Linked DNA regions of Homo sapiens: all the other regions are linked to region 5. Evidence: promoter capture Hi-C in 16 types of primary human blood cells and fetal thymus (Javierre and others, 2016). All regions are on one chromosome and are shown on one strand. The core of a region is centred on a gene start or on the middle of the fragment in contact, and the rest is flanking DNA. Distances in the headings are between cores, read along the strand shown. Region 1 has its middle 38 kb from the start of ISG20. Region 2 overlaps CARMAL (coronary artery disease region linked MFGE8 regulatory lncRNA). Region 3 holds the start of LOC124903573. Region 4 has its middle 5.4 kb from the start of CARMAL. Region 5 holds the start of HAPLN3 (hyaluronan and proteoglycan link protein 3). Region 6 overlaps CARMAL (coronary artery disease region linked MFGE8 regulatory lncRNA). Region 7 has its middle 59 kb from the start of ISG20.

The links. Contacts are between HindIII fragments. The CHiCAGO score rates a contact against its expected background, and 5 or more counts as called.
Region 1: a fragment that was not itself captured here is called in contact with the fragment with the promoter of HAPLN3 in region 5 in 5 of 17 cell types (naive CD8 T cells, naive B cells, total CD4 T cells and 2 more); the score reaches 8.6 in naive CD8 T cells.
Region 2: a contact is called between a fragment that was not itself captured here and the fragment with the promoter of HAPLN3 in region 5, in 2 of 17 cell types (naive CD4 T cells and total CD4 T cells). The highest score is 5.3, in naive CD4 T cells.
Region 3: a contact is called between a fragment that was not itself captured here and the fragment with the promoter of HAPLN3 in region 5, in 3 of 17 cell types (naive CD8 T cells, naive CD4 T cells and total CD4 T cells). The highest score is 6.4, in naive CD8 T cells.
Region 4: a fragment that was not itself captured here is called in contact with the fragment with the promoter of HAPLN3 in region 5 in 5 of 17 cell types (naive CD8 T cells, total CD4 T cells, activated CD4 T cells and 2 more); the score reaches 7.2 in naive CD8 T cells.
Region 6: a contact is called between a fragment that was not itself captured here and the fragment with the promoter of HAPLN3 in region 5, in 7 of 17 cell types (naive CD8 T cells, non-activated CD4 T cells, total CD4 T cells and 4 more). The highest score is 11.0, in naive CD8 T cells.
Region 7: a contact is called between a fragment that was not itself captured here and the fragment with the promoter of HAPLN3 in region 5, in 1 of 17 cell types (total B cells). The highest score is 5.2, in total B cells.

Annotation. Positions count from the first base shown.
Region 1 is chr15:88,674,770-88,678,301 of GRCh38, forward strand. No RefSeq gene overlaps it. Among named protein-coding and RNA genes, the nearest start is that of ISG20, 38 kb to the left of the region's middle. The HindIII fragment of the contact is 1,417 bases long and covers 617-2,033 here.
Region 2 is chr15:89,074,350-89,077,442 of GRCh38, forward strand. CARMAL (coronary artery disease region linked MFGE8 regulatory lncRNA) reads left to right here. Exons shown (of 4, transcript NR_183882.1): 3 at 947-1,035. It also overlaps a transcript of ABHD2 not described here. Among named protein-coding and RNA genes, the nearest start is that of ABHD2, 13 kb to the right of the region's middle. The HindIII fragment of the contact is 5,614 bases long and covers 1-3,093 here.
Region 3 is chr15:89,104,467-89,107,954 of GRCh38, forward strand. All of the region lies in intron 1 of ABHD2 (abhydrolase domain containing 2, acylglycerol lipase), which reads left to right. LOC124903573 reads right to left here and starts at 2,066. Exons shown (of 7, transcript XM_047433432.1): 1 at 1,974-2,066. The coding sequence starts at 2,066. The HindIII fragment of the contact is 3,052 bases long and covers 308-3,359 here.
Region 4 is chr15:89,033,992-89,037,180 of GRCh38, forward strand. No RefSeq gene overlaps it. Among named protein-coding and RNA genes, the nearest start is that of CARMAL, 5.4 kb to the right of the region's middle. The HindIII fragment of the contact is 6,015 bases long and covers 1-3,189 here.
Region 5 is chr15:88,893,755-88,897,277 of GRCh38, forward strand. It overlaps HAPLN3 (hyaluronan and proteoglycan link protein 3), which reads right to left and starts at 1,790. Exons shown (of 5, transcript NM_178232.4): 1 at 1,705-1,790. RefSeq lists an enhancer at 1,016-1,627. The HindIII fragment of the contact is 19,838 bases long and covers 1-3,523 here.
Region 6 is chr15:89,056,638-89,060,066 of GRCh38, forward strand. All of the region lies in intron 1 of CARMAL (coronary artery disease region linked MFGE8 regulatory lncRNA), which reads left to right. It also overlaps a transcript of ABHD2 not described here. Among named protein-coding and RNA genes, the nearest start is that of CARMAL, 17 kb to the left of the region's middle. RefSeq lists an enhancer at 2,698-3,198. The HindIII fragment of the contact is 778 bases long and covers 879-1,656 here.
Region 7 is chr15:88,696,163-88,699,748 of GRCh38, forward strand. No RefSeq gene overlaps it. Among named protein-coding and RNA genes, the nearest start is that of ISG20, 59 kb to the left of the region's middle. The HindIII fragment of the contact is 1,045 bases long and covers 1,807-2,851 here.

The DNA of each region.
Region 1 (3,532 bases), core at 75-2,574, 220 kb before region 5:
TTACAGCAGCATCATTCCAACGCCTGCCTCCATCTTCACATAGCCCTTTCTGCATGTGGTGACGTATAATCTCCTTCTGCCTCTCTTTCATGGGGAGACTTGCAATAGCATTCAGGACCCACCCAGATAATCCAGGATTAGCTCCTCATTTCAAGGTGCTTAATTTAATAACATTGACAAAGTTCTTTCTTCCAAGTAAGGCAACATTCATAGATTCCAGGGATTTGATGTGGATATCTTTTGGTGGACCATTTTTCAGCTTGCCACAGAAAGTGATTGGATTTAAGGAAACAAATTATTTTTTATTGCTTCCCAGGAGAAATTCAGTAAGAAGTCAATAAAAGCAGAAAAATGGTTGCTGAATATCAATGAGATAGATCTGAATCAACCAACATGAATTTTTTTAATGTGATTTTTTTTTCAACAAGCTCAAATGTCTATTTTCTGTGATTTTGTATCAATTTTGTATCAAATGTCTTTTTATTTTCTGTGATTGCTTTATCACTTTGATCAGCAAGAAAACAGAAACATTTTATTAACAAATTTGTAGATTTTAGGTGTGGCAGGTAAAAAGAGATATGGAGAAAAATGTGTTGAATAAATATAAACCAATTAAAGCTTGGGTTGCAAATTTAAATTCTTAGAAATAGAATTTCAAGTAACAAACATCATAAGGGACAAAGAGGCATTTTATGGATTAATAAAAGGAACACAGACCAAGAAGACATAAACATAAACATATATGCATCTAGCAATATAGCCCAGGATTATATAATGCCAGGCAGTCCAAAAGAACTTTCTGCAGTGACAGAAATGTTCTATATCTGCATTGTTCAATACAGTAACCACTAACAACATGTGGCTGCTGAACACTTGAAATGTGGCTACTGTGACTCAGGAATTGAAGATTTAACTTTAATTAATTCAGACTTATTTATTTATTTTTTGAGACAGGGTCTTCCTCTATTGCCCAGTGGCAGGATCATGGCTCATTGTAGCCTCCACCTCCTGGACTCAAGCAATTCTCCTGCCTCAGCCTCTCAAGTAGTTGGGACTATAGGCGTGCATCATCATACCCGACTAATTTTTTTTAAATTGTTTGCAGGTCTCACTATGTTACCCAGGCTGGTCTCAAACTCCTGGGATCAAGTGATTCTCCTATGTTGGACTCCCAAAGTGCTGGGAATACAGGCATGAGCCACTGTGCCCTGCCAATTAAAATGTAAATAGCCACATGTGTCTACTACCTACTACACTGGACAGTCTTGATGAAACAACAGCTGGAAGAATCATGAACAGAACTAAATAAAGCAACAATAATAGTTGAAGATAGTAATATACTCCTCTCAGAAGTGAACAGACTAAGCAAACCAGAAAGATAACTCTGAGTTGGTATTGGCAGATTCCTCCACAATAATAACCTTTATTGTCTTTGCTTTTATTTCCTATTTTCACCCCCAAATTTGCACTGTTTATTGTTTAATAACAAATAGACATATTCCTTTTTTTTTTTTTTTTTTTTTTTGAGACAGTATTGCTCTCTCGCCCAGGCTGCAGTGTGGTGGCACAATCTTGGCTCACTGCAACCTCTGCCTCCCAGGTTCAAGCAATTCTCCTGCCTCAGCCTCCCAAGTAGCTGGAATTACAGGCTTGTGCCACCACGCCCGGCTAATTTCTGTATTTTTAGTAGAGATGGGGTTTCACCATGTTGGTCGGGCTGGTCTTGAACTCCTGACCTCAGGTGATCCCCCACCTTGGCCTCCCAAAATGCTAGGATTAACAGGTGTAAGCCACCGCGCCCGGCCAGACACAACTGATTTCATTCACTGTCATCATGACTCACGTTTTATCATGTTTTAGGGATTTAAAAATATTTTTCCCCTTTAAGACCCTGAGTCAATATTTGGATGTTCCATTGGATTGAGGTCAAGAAACAGTAAGTTCCACCCTCAGCACACTCTTCACTTTCATATGTTCCCATCACTCCAGCTCCTCTCCAGCTACTGCCATATCTCCCCTTCCCCTCACAGTCAAGCTTTACCCCAGGGCAGCCTGTATTTACTGTATTGTCTTTTCTTCTCCTTCTGAATTTCCTGGTGTCTGTCCTCAAGACTTCACTGAAACTGCTCTAACCTGCATTCTCAATGACCTTCCAATACTCAAATCCAATGGACACTTTCCAGTGCTTATCCTGTGTGATTTCTCCGCAGCATATATTAATGTCAACCACAATCTCCTGGAACTCTCTTTTATTATTATTATTTTTTTGTATAACCAGCCTCTCCTTCTTTCCAGCTCACTCTCTACCCCTTTGTAGATCCCTCTTCTGCCTGCCACTTAAATGTCAGCATTTTCTTCTTAGCACTTCCTTCTCAGTCATCTCTGTTTCTCACTCTGCCTTGTCTCACTGGGAAATTTTACTTAAGTCTATAACTACAATCACTCCTTTAGCTGATGATCCACCAGTGTCTTTCTTAAGTTCTAATCTTTTCAACTGGACAATCTGCAGGCATTTCAAACTCAACATGTCCCATACTCTTACACAGCCTCACCGTTCCCATTTTACCTTTCTCATGTATTTCTATCTTGACTTCAGGACTTTCTCATCCACCCAAGTCATTCAAGCCAGAAACAAGAGCTTTCTTTGGCTCTTGTCTCTTTCACCTCCCACATCTAATTATCCTCCTAATCCTAAAGCTTCCATTTCCCAGGTATCTCCTGCATTCACTCTGCTCTCATCTTCACTGCCTTAGCTCATGACCTCATCATTGCTCTCCTGGATTATTGAAGTTTTCTTCCACTGGCCCTCTACCCACAATCTTGCCTTCCCTCATTGTTTATTTTAAACTGCTTTCTTAGAAGTCAAAAAATTGTCATTCCTTTGTTAAGCATATCTTTCATGATAAAGTCTGTTGGCTATTTGTTGCACAGTATTAATTTCTCTTTCTTTGGAAATAACACTTCAATATATCTTTGAGATCTGCTTCTTCTCTATAGTGTGCAGACATGATGGAATCATAAATCAAGAACTCTGGCCTTCTTACACTAAACCAACTGGTCTCTGTCTCCAAAGACTTTGAGTCTTGTGAAGGTTGAGTCAAGGATGCAAAAATTTTGCTCTTATTGCAGCAGCAGCACATCGACAAACCAGCAGTCCTCATTCCCTAAATGGTTGTTGCTTTCCTGGTTCCTGTTCTTTTCTAAGCCCAATTTATTAGCCTTTTTGTTTTGTTTTGTTTTGTTTTCCAGTTCTGTGAGTTCCCAGATACTCTTCAGATAGAAGCCTTTTCTGATGATATTAGCCAAAATCTATTTTTGTTGCTTACAACTAGGAAGCTTGGTTGCAAAATGTACATCCATTCATAAGGTAGGCAAAGCCCCTCAGTAACTGGCCTCCACCCTCTCCTCCAGCATCATCTGTGGTCATGGTCCCCCTGCACCATTCACTCCAGCCTCTAAAATAACATGCTATACCCCTAACATAGCATGTTAAGAAGATTCTCGGCTGGGCGTGGTGGCTTACGCCTATAAT
Region 2 (3,093 bases), core at 1-2,500, 180 kb after region 5:
GGGGGGCAAGAGCGAAACTCCATCTGAAAAAAAAAAAAAGAGTCACCTGAAGATCTTAAACAATTCTGATGCCAGTGTTCTTTCCCAGATCAAATTAAATCAGGAAAGCTGGGAGTGAGACCCAGATGCACTGTTTTAACAAATTCCTCAGGGGATTCTAATGTGTCACCAGGTGGAAAACCACTGAAACACTGAGCCATTCTCCTTATCTGAAAATGAAGACTGAGGATTAAGTGTAATGGAAATGAAAGAGTCTGGCATAAGGCAGGCACCCGAAGTGGCTGCTATGACTCCTCCACTTTCTAGCCTTCCCTTCCATCTTAGAGGAAGAGCTGCCCCCAGGCCTGTATGAGGTTCACCTGTCTCCAACCCCTCCCCAACAAAGAAAAGAACCTAGCTTGCTTTGTCATTTTCTTCTGGAACATTGCCTCTCACCAGCGTCTCAAGTCTACTTCCACTAGCTCTTCCCTATCTGTCTTTTAAAATATGCTGAACTCCGCCATCACTCAATCTTGCTGTCATCCTGTTTCCTGCCTCATATCACTGATAACATTTCTCAAGCAAGTGGCCTACAGCGGTACCAATTCCTGGCTTCTCCTTAACCCTCAGGAGAAAAAGCCTCATTCCCTTCACCCCCAACCCTAAACTTTAGTACAGAGACACCCAAAGTTTATCAAAAGTGTTTGAATGGCCAAACCCAGAGGCCTTTTCTCGGTAATTCTTCTCTTTCAATTCAATTGAACAAGCGTGTTTTAGTGCCTACTATCACTTGGGTACAAAGAGGAATAAGTCACCCTCCTTGGCCTCAAGGGGTAGGGCTTGGGAGCAGCTATCATGTAAGTAAGGCAATACCTGAGATAGGAACTGTGAGGTAAAGTGTGAATGATGTGGGTTCTGGCCCCCAGCACTCAGCCTTATCATAGGTCTTTGCATCTACATCTATTAGGAATGGATGATTGAATGGATGAATGAACTCCACAGGAAGATGAGGAAAGCCTTTATGGATGGAGTGAGCTTGCAGCAGAGTCTCAAAGGGTGAGTAGAGTTTTCCAGGTAGGGAAGTGTGTGGGTGAGTAGTCCAGATCGAGTCAAAGGTATGGGAGCAAGGAACGGCCTGGTGCATTCCAGAAGTGTTGATAATGTCACTGGCTGACTCGGAGGGTGTGAAGGGGAGGAGAAGGAGGGAAGGCTAGAGAGGGAAGGTAGAAAGGAAGTGGAGGCGAAAAAAGATGCTGAAGGGCCTCCTGTACCTCCAGGAAGAGTTTGAATGTTATCATTTGGGCAATGGGAAGCTATTCCTGGGTCTTCACAAGGGAATCAGTTGGTGAGAACTGCTGTTTAGAAAGACAGCCCTGGCAGCAACTCAAGCGCTGGGAGAGGACAGAACCACCAGGGAAGAGGGTATGGGGAAGAAGAGCAGCAGGCTGAGGACAGGCCCAGGACTGAAGAATCAGGCACAGGAAGAAGAGTCCATGGGGCAGGCTGTGAAATGGACAAAGGAAAACCAGAGGTGCTTCCCAAGCAGGGGGCCTGGCCACCAGAGTCCCAAGCTACCAAGATGTCAAGTAAAGAAGAACTGAAAGCCAACTGCTGGATGCAGCAGTGAGTGGGGGTCACAGTGGCCTTTGCCAGAACTGTTCCAGTGGAGGAGTAGAGGAAGAGAGAAAACCACAGGAGCAGGCATCGCAAGCTCATGCTCCACCCACACGTCCCCTTTCTCCTTTAGTCCTGTGACCCATGTGCTTGCTCTCTTTCTCTCTCAAAGGAGATCCAAATTTAAAAATATGGAGCCAAGGGAATCAGTTCCTTTGCGAACACACTGAACGTTAGTTTTCTTCTTCTCTTTTGCAAAAACTTCTTATTTCACAAAATACTCAAACAAATAGACAAAGTACAGTGAAGTCCAGGTAGATATCATCCACCTTCAGCAATGATCAATCCATGGCCAATCTTTCATCTCAACACTCGTATCCTCATTCTTGTGGAGCAAATGCCAGACATTCTTTCATCCATCAGTATGTCAATATGTATCTCTGAAATAGAAGGACTTTTTATAAAACATAATCATAATATAATTAATATTCATTCCCCAATTGTTTTGTTATTGTCTTTTACAGTTTAATTTTTGTTTTGTTTTGTTTCGTTTCTTTTTGAGACAGGATCTTGCTCTGTTACCCAGGCTGGAGTGCAGTGGTGCGATCATGACCCATTGCAGCCTCTACCTCCTGGGCTCAGGTGATCTTCCCACCTCAGCCTCCCAAGTAGCTGGGACTACAGGTGCATGCCACCATGTCCAGCTACTTTTTTGTATTTTTGTAGAGATGAGGTCTCACCATGTTGCCCAGGCCAGTCTCAAACTCCTGGGCTCAAGTGATCCACTTGCCCCAGCCTTCCAAAGTGCTAGGATTACAGGCATGATCCATAATACCCAGCTACGGTTTGTTTTCATTTGGATGCTAATAAGACCCATACATTCCATTTGGTTGATCTATCTCTTCAATTTCTTTTAAATTTATAATTTTATAAGGTCCCCTTCCACATTTTTCTTTGTGGAAGAGGAGAAAAGACCCTTGTTCTCTGGATCACTCTGTGGTTAAGGGGGTAGGTCCTCAAATCAGATGCCCTGGTTCTATTTTGCTTTCTTGTTTTTTAGTACTTTTTGTTTGTTACCTACACACAGAAAAGTACATGAATCATAAGTGAGCAGCTTGATGAATTTTCATAAGTGAACACACCTGTGTAACCACCACCCAGCTCAGGAACAGGGCATCACTGGCACCCAAGAACCCCCTCTCAGGCCCTTTCCCAGTCTCTACCACCTCACAAAGGTCAGGTGACTTTTTCACACCACAGCCATGTGTTACCTCTTTTTGAACTTTATATAAATAAAATCATAGCATACATTTCTTGGATGACTGGCTTCTTTCACTCACCTTTATGCTGGTGGCATGCTTATCGTAATGATTTGTTCATTCCCAATGCTGCATAGTATTCCATTGAATATGAATGTTCTACAATCTGTTTATCCATTCTAGTGTTGATGGACATTTGGACAGTTTACAATCTTAAGCTATTACGAATGGTGCTATTGTG
Region 3 (3,488 bases), core at 584-3,083, 210 kb after region 5:
GCACGTGTTAATGCTGTCATCACGGGCCCCACAGTGTGTATTAGCCAAGTACTGGGGGCACTGGGAGCCTTGTCTGCTCCCAGTCGGCGTTGGGAAACCAGAACGCTCAGGAACGGTGAGTCCCAGTTATTTTTATTTTCTCATTAACTGAGAGTAGCTGTAAGTCCTTTTCTGTTGCAGGTCTGGGTGAAACTTTCTTCTTTGCCTGCCTTAGGGAGTTAGATGGGTTGAGTGGTTCTTCAGGCAACGGTTGTGCCAGGCACTGGGTCTTGCCCTCCCACCCCCATCTCCATTTCCTCCTTCTGGAAGCTTATTTCCAGACATAGAAGAGTGGGTGGCATCTCTATGGTGCCCAGGACAATCAATCTGGAGATGCCCTCTTCTTCAGTTGTATCCTTCTCTTAAAAATTCCAGTAAACTAGGCACTTGAGCTCATTGGGTTCTGGTAAACTGCAATTTTGCTTCTGATATTACAGAATTTAATTATGGTGTAGATTTTTAAAAATATGTTTAGGATAAATCTCACAATTCATATGCCTGTTCTCTTAGAAAATCTAGAACCTCCCTAGAGGAAACACCTGGCGTAAGATTTTTTTGTTTGTTCTCAGGTATGGATTCATGGTTTCTCAGTGAAAGAGAAAACAATTTTGCCTGTGATTTTACTAAGTGCTTTACCCATTCGTTCTCTCATAGCCAGTACTATTCTTTCAGCAGGGTTATTTGCTAGTGGAAGAGGCCAGCTTCCTTTCAGTATTTTAGTAAGGGCACGTAAAAGTGCCCGATTAAATGTTCCTGTTTAACTGGTGACTCAGTCTTCAGACATTTTTAGTTTGGTAACTTTCTTTGTGGAAGCTCATGGGTTAGTAGCCATTCCTGACATTTAAATGTGAGGTTCACGTTTTCCTGCATTGGGTAACTTGACTCCCCCTGAGAACTTGTAGACTATTTTCTGAAATTCCAGCAGATTGAGTGTGTGACCTTATGACTTTGTGGAAGAAATATGGCTAAATAAAACTGTTATCACATGAGTAGGTTTGCACAGAAAGACAATTTCAAGGACTTATCTTGAATACAACAAAGGGCAACCTTGCCGTAAATACATTTAATTATCTGTCAATCCCTCCAGTTCTCTTCTACTAAATTGTGTGTGACTTGATGATCCCTTCACCTTGTAGGACCTGGTTTGTAAGAGATGGACTGGATCAACCAAGGGCTTTATCCTTCCTTGTTATGGTAACCCACTCCCGCCCTTTCAGGGCAGTCCCTGGCTTGAGTTAGTTAATGTTCAAAAATCAGTGTTTCTCAGCATCTCTGGAAAACAGGATTGGCCCTATTGTTTCCAGGGCTTTCCCATCCCTTCTGGCTTGAGGTGGTGGTGGTGGTGAGAGGAGGTCTTTTTTTTTTTTCTTTTAAACAATAGAGACGGAGTTTCTCCATGTCACACAGGCTAGTCTTGAACTCCTGGGCTCAAGCAATCCACCCTCCTTGGCCTCCCAAATGGCCAGGATTATAGATGTAAGCCACTGTGCCCAGCCGAGAGGTGGTCTTTTAAAACCCAGAGTATTGGCCAGGTGCAGTAGCTCACGCCTGTAATTCCAGCACTTTGGGAGGCCGAGGCAGGTGGATCACCTGAGGTCAGGAGTTCGAGACCAGCCTGGCTAACATGGTGAAACCCCGTTTTTACTAAAAATGCAATAAATTAGTGGGGCATGGTGGCACCCACCTGTAATCCCAGCTACGCCAGAGGCTTGAACCCAGGAGGCAGAGGTTGCAGTGACCTGAGATTGTGCCATTGCACTGCAGCTTGGGCGACAAGAGCGAAACTCCATCTCAAAAACAAACAAACCCAGAGTATTTGAGCACCGTGATGACTCCATTCCACAGAACCCTCTGTGGGAGGACACGTGGTCCTAGACCAACACCGATTTGCTAAAAGGTGGGTCTGTGAGCTGCTGGCTAAGGTGCTCACTCACCTCATTAGACCTTACCGAGAGTGAGAACAGGGCCGGGTCGCCAGGGCTGTGCAGTTCCCGAAGCCTCCTGGCTATGTTCTGAGGCTCTCCCATCCCATGGCAGTGAAAGACTCAGAGGACACAAAGGCACAACTCAGACGGGGATGGCTAGGCCTTCTCCCCAAAATCATCTGGGCTTGTTTTCGTCCCTGCAGAATGGTTTTTTTCCCCCTATGATGGCTCTGACTAATTTAGTTAAATGGCAGATAAAGTGGGGAGAAGGTGGCCCATTTCCTCCTTACTTTCTCTCCAAGGGTGTCATGTTGCCCACATTTAAGGTTGACCACTTTTATCTGGTGTAGCAAGTTCAATAGTGACCCTCCAAAATTTATGTCCCATCTGAAACCAGTGAATGTGACCTTATTTGGAAATTGGGTCTTTGCAGATGTAATCAAGTTAAGATGGGGTTGTACTTTTATCTAAGCTGCCACCAAAGAGGCTGAAAAATCAGAATGACATGGGATGGAAACAGACCATGTTTTTGGGGTGGTGTGCTGTGGCCTTCTGCTGTCCTTCTCCTGACATCCTCACAGGGTACTTTGGGGGACAAAGTTTTATCTCAGGGCATTACAGTTTGCTGGGAGATCCAGGCTAGGCAAGAGGGGATTTTTACCTGCAGGGAAGAATGGGTAGTCTTTCCATGGGCAGGAGAAGCCCCTCAGCAGGAGAGGGGTGGTGTCAGGAGCAGGGGTTCCAGCTGTGCACTGCCAAGGATGCATTTTAGCACAGAAAACAAGAACAATGCATCTTGGAACTGTTTATGGGACATGATGATCACCACTTAGTATCCAGTGATTTATTAAGTCTAACATGGTTCCATTTTAGAAGATATGGTTCCATTTTAGAAGAATCAAGAAGAGTATGTCCTGGAATTAATTTTAAACTCATTGGAGGAGGCCCAAGCAGTTAATCAGCTAGTGAGTTCATTGCTAATGAGACTTGTGTGTCAGTTAGGAAGGAGTATGTTTTGTGGTCGTTTCTATCTGTCAACTTAGGTTGTTTACTGAGGCAAAATGGAGGAAAGTTTAATAGTGGAGATGGTAATAGCGAATATTTTGCGGTAGTACCCCAAAATATTAAAAATACGGTAGTATTGTATGCCGGCATTGTTTTAAAATGCTCTTTATGTATTAACATGTTCAGTTTACAGATGGTGTTCAGAGGGATTAAGGAACTTGCCCCAGGACAAACACTGTGGCTGGATTTGGCACTGGCTGTGTCACTGCAGGACTGGACCCTAAATGAAATTTACATCTTCAACCAGATGGAATTGGAACAGAGAAATCCTTTAGGGGTTTGGTTTGGTTTTCCTTGAGAGGTATTTGCCTTAGGACCCATAAGTATCAAAGCTTGTTGTGCTAGGTCCTTGAGGGTTGCAAGGAAGAGAGATCTCCCCCTCCCCCAGCTGTCTGTGTCCTCTGAGCTCTCTCACTTTGCTGATAGCTAAGAGGAAAGGAAAGGATGGTTCTGATAGCT
Region 4 (3,189 bases), core at 385-2,884, 140 kb after region 5:
CGCCACCATGCCTGGCTAATTTTTGTATTTTTAATAGAGATAGGGTTTCACCATGTTGGCCAAGGTGGTCTTGAACTCCTGACCTCAGGTGATCTACCCGCCTTGGCTTCCCAAAGTGCTGGGATTACAGATATAAGCCACCACCAAGCCAAGTCAATCTTAAATTACATTAAAAACAGTGTCTACTATCACTGAGTAGTACACAAGTGATTCAGAGATTTGGGGTTTGGGTCCTGGGATTACAAAATAGAAGATACAATGAAATATCTCCCTCCCATTTATTCTCTAGCCATCCAGTTCCTACCCCAGAAGCAGCCTATTTTGTTACCATATTTCATTGACTTCTAAGATATACATGTTTTTTCACATTTTAACATCTCTGAAATCAGGATGTGTCTTACAATAGCTGTCAGCTAGGTGGCTCTCATCACATTGATACCATTGCCTGCACTTGAGCAAACTTGGCTATAGCTTTGGTATTGTCATCATTTCAAATGATTTATGTGCATTGTTGACGCTACATGCGCTGACTTTACTTGCTATTTAAAATATCTTCAAAAAGACGGTACTATCAGCATTTAAATGAAAGGTCACTGTGGATGCAGAAAGTTACAGAAACAACAGTGAGGTGCAAAATTGATATTAGTGAAGCGAATTTATGAATTGTTAGAGTAATGATTTCCATTCCATATTTTCTTGCAGAGCAACCATTGAGAGGTTTTCAGCAGCAGTACCTCTCTGACTGCAATGTGCACACAAATCCGCTGGGATCTGGATAAAACACAGATTTTGATTCACTAAGTCTGGCATGGGTCAGATTCCACATTTCTTTTTTTTTTTTTTTTTTTTTTTTTGAGATGGAGTCTTGCTCTGTCACCCAGGCTGGAGTGCAATGGTGCGATCTCTGCTAACTGCAACCTCAGCCTCCCGGGTTCAAGCGATTCTCCTGCCTCAGCTTCCCAAGTAGCTGGGACTACAGGCACATACCCCCACGCCTGGCTAATTTTTTGTACTTTTAGTAGAGACAGGGTTTCACCATGTTGGCCAGGCTGGTCTCGAACTCCTGACCTCATGATCTGCCCACCTCCGCCTCCCAAAGTGCTGGGATTACAGGTGTGAGCCACGGCGTCTGGCCTCAGATTCCACGTTTCTAACAAGCCCTCTGGTGATATTGATGCTGCTGATGCATGCTTGGTCCATTTGAGGACCCCAAAGTGGAAGATACCCAAAAGAGAAAAAGGAATGTTACCTACTCAAATTCATGCCAGACAATGCAATTTAAGACTGGGGAAATTGCCAGATCTCTCAGAATAGATGCAAGAAATTTCAAAGCCATGAAGGGCTGGTGTGATCAATCATGTGTCATGCAAGGCTGTCGTTATGGCATCATGTCATATAGTTAACTGGCAGTCTTTTTTTAAATAGACTTTATCTTTTAGAGCAGTTTTAGTTCACAGCAAAATTTAGAAGTACAGAGCGTTCTCATACACTCCCTGGCCCTACACATACACAGCCTCCCCCACTATCAACATTCTGCAACAGAGAGGTAAATTTGTTATAATCAATGAACCTACATTGACACATTATTATCACCCAAAGCCCATTTCTTTTAGTGCTGAATAATATTCCATTGTCTGGAAGTACCTATAGTTTATTTACACATTCACCTACTGAAGGACATCTTGCTTGCTTCCACATTTTGATGATTATAAATAAAGCTGATTATAAACATCCATGGGCAGATTTCTGTGTGGACACCAGTTTTTAATTCATTTGGGTCAATACCAAGCAGCACAATTGCTAGTTCATATGGTAAAAGTATATTTAGTTTTGTAAGAAACCGCCAAATTAGGCTGGGAGTGGTGACTCATGCCTACAATCTCAACACTTTGGAAGTCCAAGGTAGGAAGATCACGAGTCCAGGAGTCTGAGACCAGCCTGGGCAACATAGGAAGACTCTGTCTCTACAAAATTTTTGTTTTAGAAATTAGCCTGGTATGGTAGCACATGCCTGTAGTCCCAGCTATTCAGGAGGCTGAGGTGGGAGGATTGTTTGAGCCCAGGAGTTAGAGACTGCAGTTAGCCGTGATCTTGCCACTGCACTCCAGCCTGGGTGACAGGGCAAGCCCCTGTCTCAAAAAAAAAAAAAAAAAAAAAGAAAAGAAACCATCAAATTGTCTTCCAAAGAGCCTGAAGAACCTGTAGCATTTTGCGTTCCCATCAGCAATGAATGAGAGTTCATTCATTCACACTGATTCAATGAGATGACCCAAATCCAGAACACTGACAACACTAAATGCTGGTGAGGATGTGGAGCAACACACGTGTTTGGGTCCTCGCATTGTTGATCTAATTTGAAGTTCCCTGATGACACATGATGTGGAGCATCTTTTCACATGCTTACTTCATTTGTAAAATCTTTGGTGAGGTGTCTGTTCCAGTCGCTTGTCCATTTTTCAGCTGGGTTGTTCATTTTCTTATTGTTGAGCTTTAACAGTTCTTTGTATATTTTGGATAACAATCTTTTATCAGGTGTCTTTTCCAAATACTTTTTCCCAGTTGGTGGCTTGTCTTCTAATTCTCTTGACAGTGTTTTTCACAGAGCAGAAGTTTCTCTAATTTATTGAAGTCCAATTTATCAATGATTTCTTTCATGGTTAATGCCTGTGGTGTTGCATCAAAAAAGTCATGTCCATACGCAACATCATCCAGATTTCCTCCTTTGTTGTCTTCTAGAAGTTTTATAGTTTAGTGCTTTACATATAGGTCTGTGAGCCATTTCGACTTCATTTTTATGAAGGGTGCAAGGTCTGTGTCTGAATTCTTTTTTTTTTTATTTGCATATGGATGTCCAGTTGTTCCAGGACCATTTGTTGAAAATACTGTCTTTTTTTCCATTGTATTATCCTTGCTCCTTTATCAAACATCAGTTGAGTATAGCTATGTGGGTCTGTTTCTGGGCTCTCTATTCTGTTCTATTCATCTATTTGCCTATTCTTTTATCAATATCACAGTCTCTTGATTACCGTGGCTTTATAGTAAGCCTTGAAGTTGGGTAGTATCAGTCCTCCGACTTCTTCTTCTTCTTCAACATTGTGTTGGCTATTCTGAATCTTTTGCCTCTCCGTTTAGCAGTCTTTTTTCTTTCTTGTGCATGCAACAATGGTATATCTTATAATTGAGGGCATC
Region 5 (3,523 bases), core at 540-3,039:
CCATCTCTACTAAAAATACAAAAATTAGCCGAGTGTGGTGATGAGCGCTTGTAGTCCCAGCTACTCGGGAGGCTGAAGCAGAAGAATCGCTTGAACCCAGGAGGCGGAGGTTGCAGTGAGCCGAGATTGAGCCATTGCACTCCAGTCTGGGCAAGAAGAGTGAGACTCCATCTCAAAAAAAAAAAAAAAGTTGGGGTGGGGGGGGCGGTCACGACAATACCAAACAGAAAACACTCTCGTGAAGATTAAGGGAGAGAATAGCTGCAGAGCACTGAAAATACTGCTTGATGCTTGATAAGGAGCAAGCACTGGGAAAATATGACCTGTTACTACTCTGGTGAGCAGTTCACACAGTGAAGTCTTACACCATCTCAGTGGCTCTTTCTCCTCTCTCACTGCCTACGAGACAAAGTGGTCACCACTGCCTCCTCTTCACAGTTGAGGAAACTGAGGCCAAGAGAGTGGAGGTCAGTGAACTACCCAAGGCGTTATCTTTGTCAAATATCTCGAACTTAGAGAAAGTTCAGGTTTCCTGATGACCAGCCCTTTGCTTTTCCCAGGCGCCCCAGCCTAGGGACCCCTCCACCCAAGAACAATAAGCCTGGGCTTGGAGGGAGGGTAGGTGCCACCTCCCTGCCAGGTGCATGTCCGCACTGGGCCTTCCGTGAGTACAAGTCCCCCAGGTACCAGCAGGAGGCAGCATCGCCCGCGAGGTCTGCACGAGCGCTGCTCCCAGCGAGAAATTTGACATCCCTGTCCCTGTTTGCACAAGGCTTGATCTCCGCCTTTGAAACCTGCAGCCCCCAGGAGAATGAAAACCGGAGGTGTTTCCCAATCCGCTGGCCCGGGCGGCGTCGAGGGAGAGAAGCCAGGGCCCCTCTCAATCGCTGCCCCCTACTCCAGGGAGCACAGGCACTCCCGCGGGTCAGCGCTGGACACCAAGGTCCCAACAGGTTTACAGGCTGCCTGTGGCCTGTGGCTGCCAACGAGCTGGTGGCAGGACTGGGTCCAAGTGCCGTGCTGTTTCCATACTGGCTGCGCACAAGCCTACGTTTCTCCCTGAGGGTCGCCATCTCCCACCCAGGGCTCTGCCCTCCACCCTCCCTACCCTTCTGGCCTCGCTGTCCCTGGGGCAAGAACCCCGGTGAGCGAGGTCTGGAACCCATAGGCATCAGTTGCCTTTGCCCCAGGCGCCCAGAGCCGGCCAGCTGCGGTCCAGAGGCGCAGGTCCGCCAGCCGCCTCGCAGGTTGCCCTCAGCCCCTCCCAGGACTCCCGGGGCCCCCGGAGCATCCAACAGATACCCAGGGGCAGGGCCTGGGGCGCCGCGGACGGCACTGGAGGCAGCCGACCCTGGACAGACGACAGGGGAGAGAGCCAAGCGGACCCTGGCAGGAAGGGGGCTGGAGGCGGACGGTGGTCTCGGAGGCCACGGGGTCCGCTCGGGCTCTGCTCCCTCACGGTGGGCACGAGGGTCCGGCGCCCGCATCCCCGCGCCGCTCCCTCCCCACTTGTGCCCCGGGCGCCCCTCGCCCGCGATCACAGCCCATCTCAGCCCGGGCCTCCGCAGTGCCCGGCCCACGCCTCCTGCCCCTTCCCCGGACCCTGCCCGGGAGGTGTGGGGACCCGCAGGGCACCCAAAGCGGTAAGGGAGGAACCCGGCCCGCACACAGCCCCAGAAGCCCAGCGACCCCTAAGCCACGTACCGTCCCCAGGCAGCTCCTCGACGGCTAGAGCTCTCGGGGGCCGCGAGCTGTCCCGGTCCAAGGCAGCAGTCTGATTTCGGGGAAATTAAAAGGGCAGAAAGGAAGCGGCAGCAGAAAAACCCCCGCGCTCCCGCCAGACCAGCCCCTTAAAGGAACACGCGCACCTTTCCCTCCCAAGGGCTGGGCTCGAAGGGAGGAGCTGCTGCAGGCTTGAGCGGTCTCCAGACTCGCTGGGAACCACCGCAAAGAGGGTGTGCAAGAGTTGAGGCCCTCACGTCTTGGGAAAGGAGAGTAGGGGTGGAATAGGAGAGTTTGGGGAGGGGGGATCCCCTTAGAAAGCCTGGTATACCAAAAACAGTGGGAGTAAGCAGGGGAAGCCCCTGTCCAGCATTCTGCTAGGGGCTAAGGCTGCTCCCCACCTTTGATTGTGGAAGGGGTGAGACTTCTGTATTACTTTCTTTTCCAAATAGAAAGCAAGGGGGTGAGGCCAGGTGCAGTGAGTGGCTCATGCTTGTAACCCCAGCACTTTGGGAGGTGGAGGCCGGTGGATCACCTGAGGTCAGGAGTTCAAGACCAGCCTGGGCAACATGGTGAAACCCTGTCCCTACTAAAAATACAAAATTAGCTGGGCGTGGTGGAGCATGCCTGTAATCCCAGCTACTTGGGAGGCTGAGGCAGGAGAATTGCTTGAACCCAGGAGGCGGAGGTTGCAGTGAGCTGAGATCATGCCATTGTGCTCCAGCCTGGGCAACAAGAGCAAAACTCCGTCTCAAAAAAAAAAAAAAAAAAAAAGCAAGGGGTTGCTGATGTCCTCATGCCCCTGAGTTTGGCCATCATGAAACACTGGCCAGATTCCCAACTCACTGTCAGGCACATAGCAGGTGCTATCCCCAGCACATGGGGCTTGAATGAGTGGCCCTGGCTGGGAGGGGAGACACAGGGTGGGATACCTCTGCAGCCTGCAGGGGCAATCAGGCTTCTGAGTGGTCCTCCAACAGGGGTGGGCCTCCCTTCGGAATCCTGCTAATCAGCACAGCCATCCAGGCAGCCGCTCAGGATGCCTCTGTTTGGACAGGGTGTTTTCTTTCCTGTCCAGACCAATGGGGGCCCTGGCCTGGACAGCCCGATGTTTCCTCAGCAGAAAAGACTAAGGAGGTCCTTCAGCTTTGGCTGGGGGAAGGGTCGAAGGGTCACAGGGTCACAGAGCTCAGAGCCTCTTCCTAAACACAGCTCAAGTTGGCCCATGAGTGTGTGTGTGTGTGTGCATGTGTGTGTGTTACACACAGCCAGGGGCACATTGGAGCACAAAGAACTGTGATCAACAGGTAAACTACACCTAAAAGGAACGCCAGGCTTGATGGGCAAAGGGGAGCCAAGGTAGGTCCCTCTGCAGGTTCCCGACAGGGGAGAGGATGGACAGTAGGGAGAGCACATTTTGCTACAGTTAAGTCGAGTTGAACATGCCAGCCAGGGGTAGGGGTAGCCAGCAGGTGGAATCTGAACGCTCACCCTCTGCCTTGCAGTGGGGCAGAAAAAAGTCAATGTGTAGGGGTGATGGTAAAAGCTGGGCAAATGGAAGACACTGCTGAGGGAGAGAAGCCAAGGAAGGAAGGAGGGGGTCAGGAGTGAGGGGACTCCACTCCAGGGTCCCAGGAGGGGGACTTTTAGAAGGCTGTGGCCAACCCATCCCAGAGCAGAGATGCTTCTCCCACTGTCTGCTTATCCCCAGGGTATGCTGGAACAGGGGTTCAGGGCAGGAAACTCCCCCGGGAGGGAGACCTGAGGCTTGGAAGCACGCAGAAAGGCTTGGCTCTAAACC
Region 6 (3,429 bases), core at 18-2,517, 160 kb after region 5:
ATCTCAAAAAAATAAAATAAAAAAATAAAATTCCTTCAGGGTGCTTGCAAAAGATAGAACAGTGCAATGAAAAAAATCAGACCCAGCAGCACTACTTATTACAACATGACCTTGAGTGAGTCATTCACCTCACTGGGCCTCAGTTTTCTTGTCTGTAAAATGGGACAATAGCAATCTCTACCTGTCAGAGTTTGTGTGCAGGCAGTCAGGAAATATAGTCAGTAGGCATTAAATTTTTTTCACACTGTTAATCCAGTTTATAAGTGATACCTTTTTTTTTTTTTTTTTTTTTTGAGATGGAGTTTTGCGCTTGTTGCCCAAGCTGGAGTGCAATGGCGCCATCTCGGCTCACTGCAATCTCCGCCTCCCGGGTTCAAGCGATTCTCCTGCCTCAGCCTCCTGAGTAGCTGGGATTACAGGCACACGCCACCACGCCCGGCTAATTTTTTGTATTTTTAGTAGAAATGGGGTTTCACCGTGTTAGCAGGCTGGTCTTGAACTCCTGACCTCAGGTGATCCGCCTGCGTCAGCCTCCCAAAGTGCTGGGATTACAAGCATGAGCCACTGCGCTAGGCCAGCGTGATACCATTTTTAAAAGTGTTAAGTGAAAAGGGTAAAGGATCTATTGAAGCCCCTTTGTAAGCATGTGAGTTCTGCTTGAGAAGCCACCCCCGGGTTAGCTCTTCTAAGCTGCTCATAGCTAATTCCCTTCCTTCATCTCCACTTCCCTTTGGGGTTTGGCGCAGTGATGATGGGGTTTCTGAAGATGAGGTAGGGCAGGGGTTACACAGTGACCACTGGGAAGTTGGGGACTGGCCGCCTCTGGAACTCCAAGGATTGATTTTCATGGTTAGCAAACAGCTGAGAGTTCTTTGGGAAGCTTCAATGGTGAAAATGCTATTTTTGGTAAGAGGGTAAGAATACAGCCCCTTCTTGTTTAGCCATGGTCGTGGAATCACGGTGGGGGCGTGCCTGGTGCATGGGCTCCTGAGAGGCAGGCCCCGTTGGGCTCACCCCCATTCCTGCTGCCATTCCCTCCATGGCCTCAGGGTGGCGCTGCTCCCTCTCCAACTGGGGCCATCTATTGCCACCATGCGGCTTCCCAGTGAAACCCGCTATTAATAAGAAGGAATGAAAAAAAAAAAAGAAAGAAACAAACCTGCCAGAACTTTCCAATCACACTGTCCTAAAAGCTGAGGACTAAGAAAACGAAGATAGATTCAGGGGACACCGTGAGTCAAAACTTTAGTTTGCCAGGTCTGACTTCTTTCCTGCAGCTCTTCGCCCTCTACCCAGTCCATCAGGGACCCCAGGACTAGGACTCCCTAGCTCCCCACTTACAAATTAAGCCCACCAACATTTGTGGGGCGCCAGGCAAGAGAACGAATGGAAGCTCACATACTCTATGTCTGCATATTTTCAAGTTGTTCAGTCAAGCTGATAAACCCTTAAATGAAGTATGCTCCATCCTTCCGCCTTGAGGTAGATACCTTCATAACCACCTAAAAGACCAGGTTGACTTTTAGGATTTTCAGCCTCCTTGGAGATCCATTCCCCTGGCTCTCCACTTCTGGCCCCAGGTCCACCCACCCACGCTCATCCTTTCAGATCGTGAGGAGCCTCACATACGTGTGGATACTCCAGCTCACACATCCAAGCTTCCTCCACACCCACACCCCTTACAACCCTGAAAACAGCTACCCCTTGGCCACTCCTAGTACCTAGCATGTGAACACAGGTAGTGAGGTCCACTCTTGGGAAGAGAGACCTAGAGAAAATGAAGATGCCCCGCAGGCACAGAAGAGGGCTTGCTGTAATTTGGACAGAAACTCTGGGGTCCTGGTACACGGAGCCTAGTCTTGGGTGGGTGTATGGACTCCCTTTGTAGAAAGGAACATGGCCCGAGGAGGTGCACAGCAGGAGCTTCTCCTGCTCTGGGCCCAGGGGATGGGGACAAGGAGAGATGACATCCTTAACTCCCTCCATCCCTCAGGAGTGCCCCTGGACATCGAGACTCCTGGAAATCTGGGTTGTGACAGGCCAAGTCCCTTCTTAATTCCTCTTTCCTGCTGTGGAGCCCCCTCATGTCCAATGATTGGCAGCAGGAAAGACCTCACTCTTCAGACAAGACCATAGTATCTGCCCTTGAAGCCTTTCTCTTTCAGCCCTCAACAATATCTCAATAAAAACAGCAATCCAACGTTGGACAGAAGCCTGCAGTAATGGGTGGTGGCGCAGAAGCCATCCTTTCAAGGGCACAGAGTGCCATTTCTCTCTCAAGGGATGGATAATTCCTGCCTTAATGCAACCTTCATCTGCCTAGTCACCAGCTGATGGGAAAGCAGCTCCAGCGAAAGATAAGGGCTCTTTGCCTGAAATGAAAAATTCATGAAGGAAGACTAGGAATGGGGCACGCAGAGAGCTGCCAAGTTGCTGTGCTCTGAGGACCTGACAAGAAGCTCAAAAAGCCAAATGGAAATTTTCTCTCCTCTCCAGCATCTCCCATCATGCCCTCTTCCATGTTTGGGGCTCTCTTCTCTGCTGTACCTGGTCACAGCTCTGCAGTCTCACCAATGCCCATATGCCAGGGGATCCAGGAAGAGGGGTACATCTGCCCACCCAGGCGAGCCACTTGACACCCACTCACATCCTCACAAAATGTTCGCTGTGGCTAGACAAGCTGGCATGGTTCTGACCACCTACCTGCCTAGACCAGACCTGGAGGAAATCCAAACTGGCTATTTATTTGTCCCTGGGAGACGCCTACAGATTACTTCCTGTTCCAATTTTCTGACCCACAGATCTGATCAAAATTCGTTAGGTTGATCATTGGTCACAACTCATAACTTGGGAAGGCAGCCCTGAATTTCTTGTCACAATGTTGGGCAGACAGTGGTATGGATGAAATGAAAGGGGAAAAAAACCTCTTGAACCATGAATTGGAGAATTTAACTCTCTCATAGGGATGGGCTTGAGAAGTACGACCGGCTACCCCATAATATACAGAATGGCACAGCAGTCGCAGGTGCCATTCCAGAGATGGTGGGTTCGAGGGCAGTAATTGATCCCCAGAAATTAGGTAGGAGGGCAGGCTGCCATCGCAGAGGAATCTGCCACCAAGGAAGTCCACCAGACTCTACTGTCAATGGGAAATGGGAAACTTGAGTCTCCTATTGCAGAGCCGCAGTTCCTTCTTCCTGCTGCAGGGTCCGTGGCCGAAGGAAAACCTCATTCCACTGTCCCCTGCCCAGGCCAGCTGTGGAACGCAGGTCCTCCATGAACTTGGGGGCCCCTCTTGGTCTCCCAGTGCATTGGCTCTTGGTTCCCAGGTCTTCCAGGCATTTATGCAGCCTTTTCCATTCAAAGCGGGAACTGGATTCAGACAGCAGTGTCTCATTGAAAAGCTTGTCCCTTCAACACCAGCCCCTA
Region 7 (3,586 bases), core at 1,079-3,578, 200 kb before region 5:
TGAGGGGGTTGGACGATCCCAGAGAGCCATTCTGGCTCTGACGGTTTATGCCACTGTGAAAAGAAAACCCGATGGAGCCCCGTGTGTGGGAGTCGAGGGCTACTTCTGGTTGGCAATGGTGTGGTCACAAATAAAGTGGTTGTGAATCAGTTTTTATTTTAAGCCTTGCAGCTGATAGATTAATTTCTATTTTATGGGCCATACTTTCTGCATAATTCCAAGAAAATCACTGCATCAGAGGCTCCACTGACATCACCAACCACCAGATAGGAGGCCCCAGCCATGCAACCCTCAGGCCCAGTCGCTATGGGAAGACTTGGCTCCAGGTATACGGGAGGTTCTTATGCTGGGGGCCCCTGGTTGCTGTGGAGATGATGTTTCTCCCTCTCCATCCACCTTCAGGAGGTGTGAGCTTCAGAGGGTTTCCCACCTACCCTGCCCCCAGATTTAAATTTAATGGGTCCAGTCATGGGTGAGGCAAATCCATCATCCCTGAAGAGATCTTAGAGGCAGACAAAGCTCTATTTTCTGGACAGCCAGGCAAACGGAATCTTGAGGGTTTGATTTTTACGGCCGTATAATTTTTGCTTGGAGGCTTGTTTGTTTGTTTGTTTCTTATGGAATTTCTCCATTTGGGGACAGTCTTCCTGAGACCTCCTAAGCTCTTTATTTGGAAAAAAAGAATTAAAAATATATTTTTTGTTAAACACGTAGAGGAGAGAGGCTTATAGTCATTTCAATTGGGAGGCCAAAACCACTGAATAGAGGAATGTGTTTAGAGGAGACCAGCCAGGAATTAGATGAACCACAGTGAAGACCAGCAGACGATTTCTAAATTGACAAAGCAAGGAGCTCTCTCTTTGTACTAACGGGCTCAATTATTTAGAGTTCTGGAGGCTCCACATTGCAAGAGCTCTGAAAATTCACCTAGACCAACTACCCATTTGATGAGATCTCCTTTCCTTCAGTCCTGGCAATGCTCATGCATTCTCTCCTTCAATTCTATGTTGTTATAACTCAGTTGAAAAAAATCTTCTTAAGTTCTTAGACTGAGCTGAAATTGGCCTCTCTGTAACTTATATCTGCCACTGGCAGGTCTGTTCTCAGGAGGCCCACGTAGGGAAAAAGCCAAACCCTAGTCCAGGTTAGCTTGGACACACCTTTTGTTACAACCCTTCAAGTCTTTGCAGGCAGCTATCATGTGTCTCTCTCTTCTGGCGAATTCCCTCGGTTCTTTTCCCATTCATCGCCTGTGACATTTCCAGACCCTTCACCATCCTGGCCACTTGCCTCTGGGCATGTTCCAAATTGTCAGCTTCTCTCTTACACTGTGGCAGGGGCCCAGACATGATGCTTCCGAGTGCTGTGTTGATGGCCTCATGGACGTAAGGACACGCCCAAGCCCAAAGCTGCAAAGCCACATTCAGATGTCACACCAGAAACTGGCTATGGGAGTACATCCTGCCCCGTTGTGTAGGATAATCTTCAAACAGCTGGCAAACACTGTAGAGCGTGTTGTCTACCATGAGACCCACATGCCATAGATCCTTAAATGTGTCAGGTTATAATTGGAAATGATTTCTTTTTCATTCAACAAATACTTAGTATTAATCTTCTAAGATCCTCTCACCGATCATAAAGGAAAGGCCGTGGAGATGTGACAATGGCTCAGAAGGATATTACATTGAATGATCTACAAAAGCCTGATTGGCCCAGGTGTGCAGGTTCTAAGCAACTTTGGAAGAACTCTGCTTAGATCAAAACAGCATAGCCACAGATGATTTGAGGTGTGAGGAAATGTATGGAAGCTTGACTTCATATCCCTTGGTTTACAGATAGGCAACTGAACTCCAGAACCTGTCATTCATCCACTTAGCCATTCATCTGTCCATCCTTTCAGCAAATGTATTTATTGAGCAGCTACTATGTATAAGATAATGTTGAGTTAGGGAGAGTGCAATGGAAACAGCAGTACAAGATAAGGAGTGATAAGTAACTCACTAATGTTGGATAAAGAGCTCTGGTTGAGTGATCTGGCTGGTTAGCACCAGAGCAAGAACCAGAAACTAGATCTTCTAACATATAGCACAGAATTCTTTCTTACTATCACTAGCAAGTGATACATGATGCATGATAGAGCCCGTGCTCTATTTCCAGGGACCCTGTCCTGAGACAATCCTATTTAGACATTTCAGGCTATATGACTGTAAGTGGCAAATGTGATGGCTGGATACAATCAGTGTTTCACCCGTGCAAAGCAAGATGCCTCAACAATCTAGAGGGAACATAGACAATCCTTCCTTAGTCCCTTCAATCATGACTTCCCCTTGTCAACAGTTTACCAAAATTCTCTCCTGGGATTCACCAGACAGCAAGTCCAGTTTGTTTTTTTCCATTTTCCTTCCCTTTGAGCGCCACAAGAGTTGAGGGTAATGCCCTTCTCCACGGGTTCTCCGGAGGCTTCATGCTTCCCTTTCCACTGCCCTCATGTCCCTTATCAGCTCCTAAACCGTGAACACCCTCAAGGATCTACCTGCCTTCATTCCCCTTCTTTTGCTTTAATATCTCTCCTTTGAGGACTGACACATTCGTAGAACCTTCACTATCATCTCTATGTATTGAAATTTCCAAATCTATATGCACATCTAGACAAGGGTCCCTCTCCCAATCTCTAGCTGCAAGCCAGATGTTTCCCCAGCTTTCCTTCCCTGGCTTCAAACTCAACAGGTCTCAAACCAAGTCATCGTTGCCTGATCTCCACTCCCCTCCATCTCCTTCCCCAACCCGCAACTGGCAGCTATCCCTTTCAGGCTCGTTCTCTTAGTTCATCAGGCTCAAAACACGGACATAAAGCTTAGTTTCTCTCTCTTGTTTATATAAGTTATTCATCTAGAAAAAGTCACTAGGGATTCTTCCCTCAGATCAGTTTAATTTTATCCCTCCATCCATCCTTCCATCCTTTCCAGAACACTCCACTTTACTCTGGGATGAGTAGGTCACGTTCCAGGGAAGCCAGAGCCCTGTTCTCAAGCCCAGAACAAGATCTTATCTCAGCTAAGCTTGCTGGCACAGGCAGCTGTGCCCAGCCTGGGTGTTCCAGGCCTCTCACAGACCACCCCCAACCCCTTGCCCACCCTTCTTTCACCGGTGAGTACAAGACCATCACCAACAGCAAGTGCTGGGCCATGCTGGCACACAAAGAGCTCTCCCCTTGCTGGGGAGCAGACGGCACTCTTTCTCCTCCGGATGGGTCCTCTCTCTCCTGTGACACATTGAGCCATAAGCTGAAATCAGATCCAGTTTTACAATGGACAGCTGGGAGCTCAGCGCTCTCCAGAGCTCAGCACCCTCCAGCCCCTGCCCATGCAGTCCATTCCCAACCCCTTCCTCTGTAGCCTCACCTCCCCACCCTCTACCTCTACCCCAAATGTCGGCACCAAGACCTCCTCTACGGTTCTTTTCAAAGAGGGGAAGGGATGAGGGGGCTATAGATCAGCCCAACATCGTTCACCTCCCCAGGAGGATGGATGCAAATGCCCAGGAGAAAACTCTTTTTAGACAGCATGGGGGCACATGGAGCGACCAG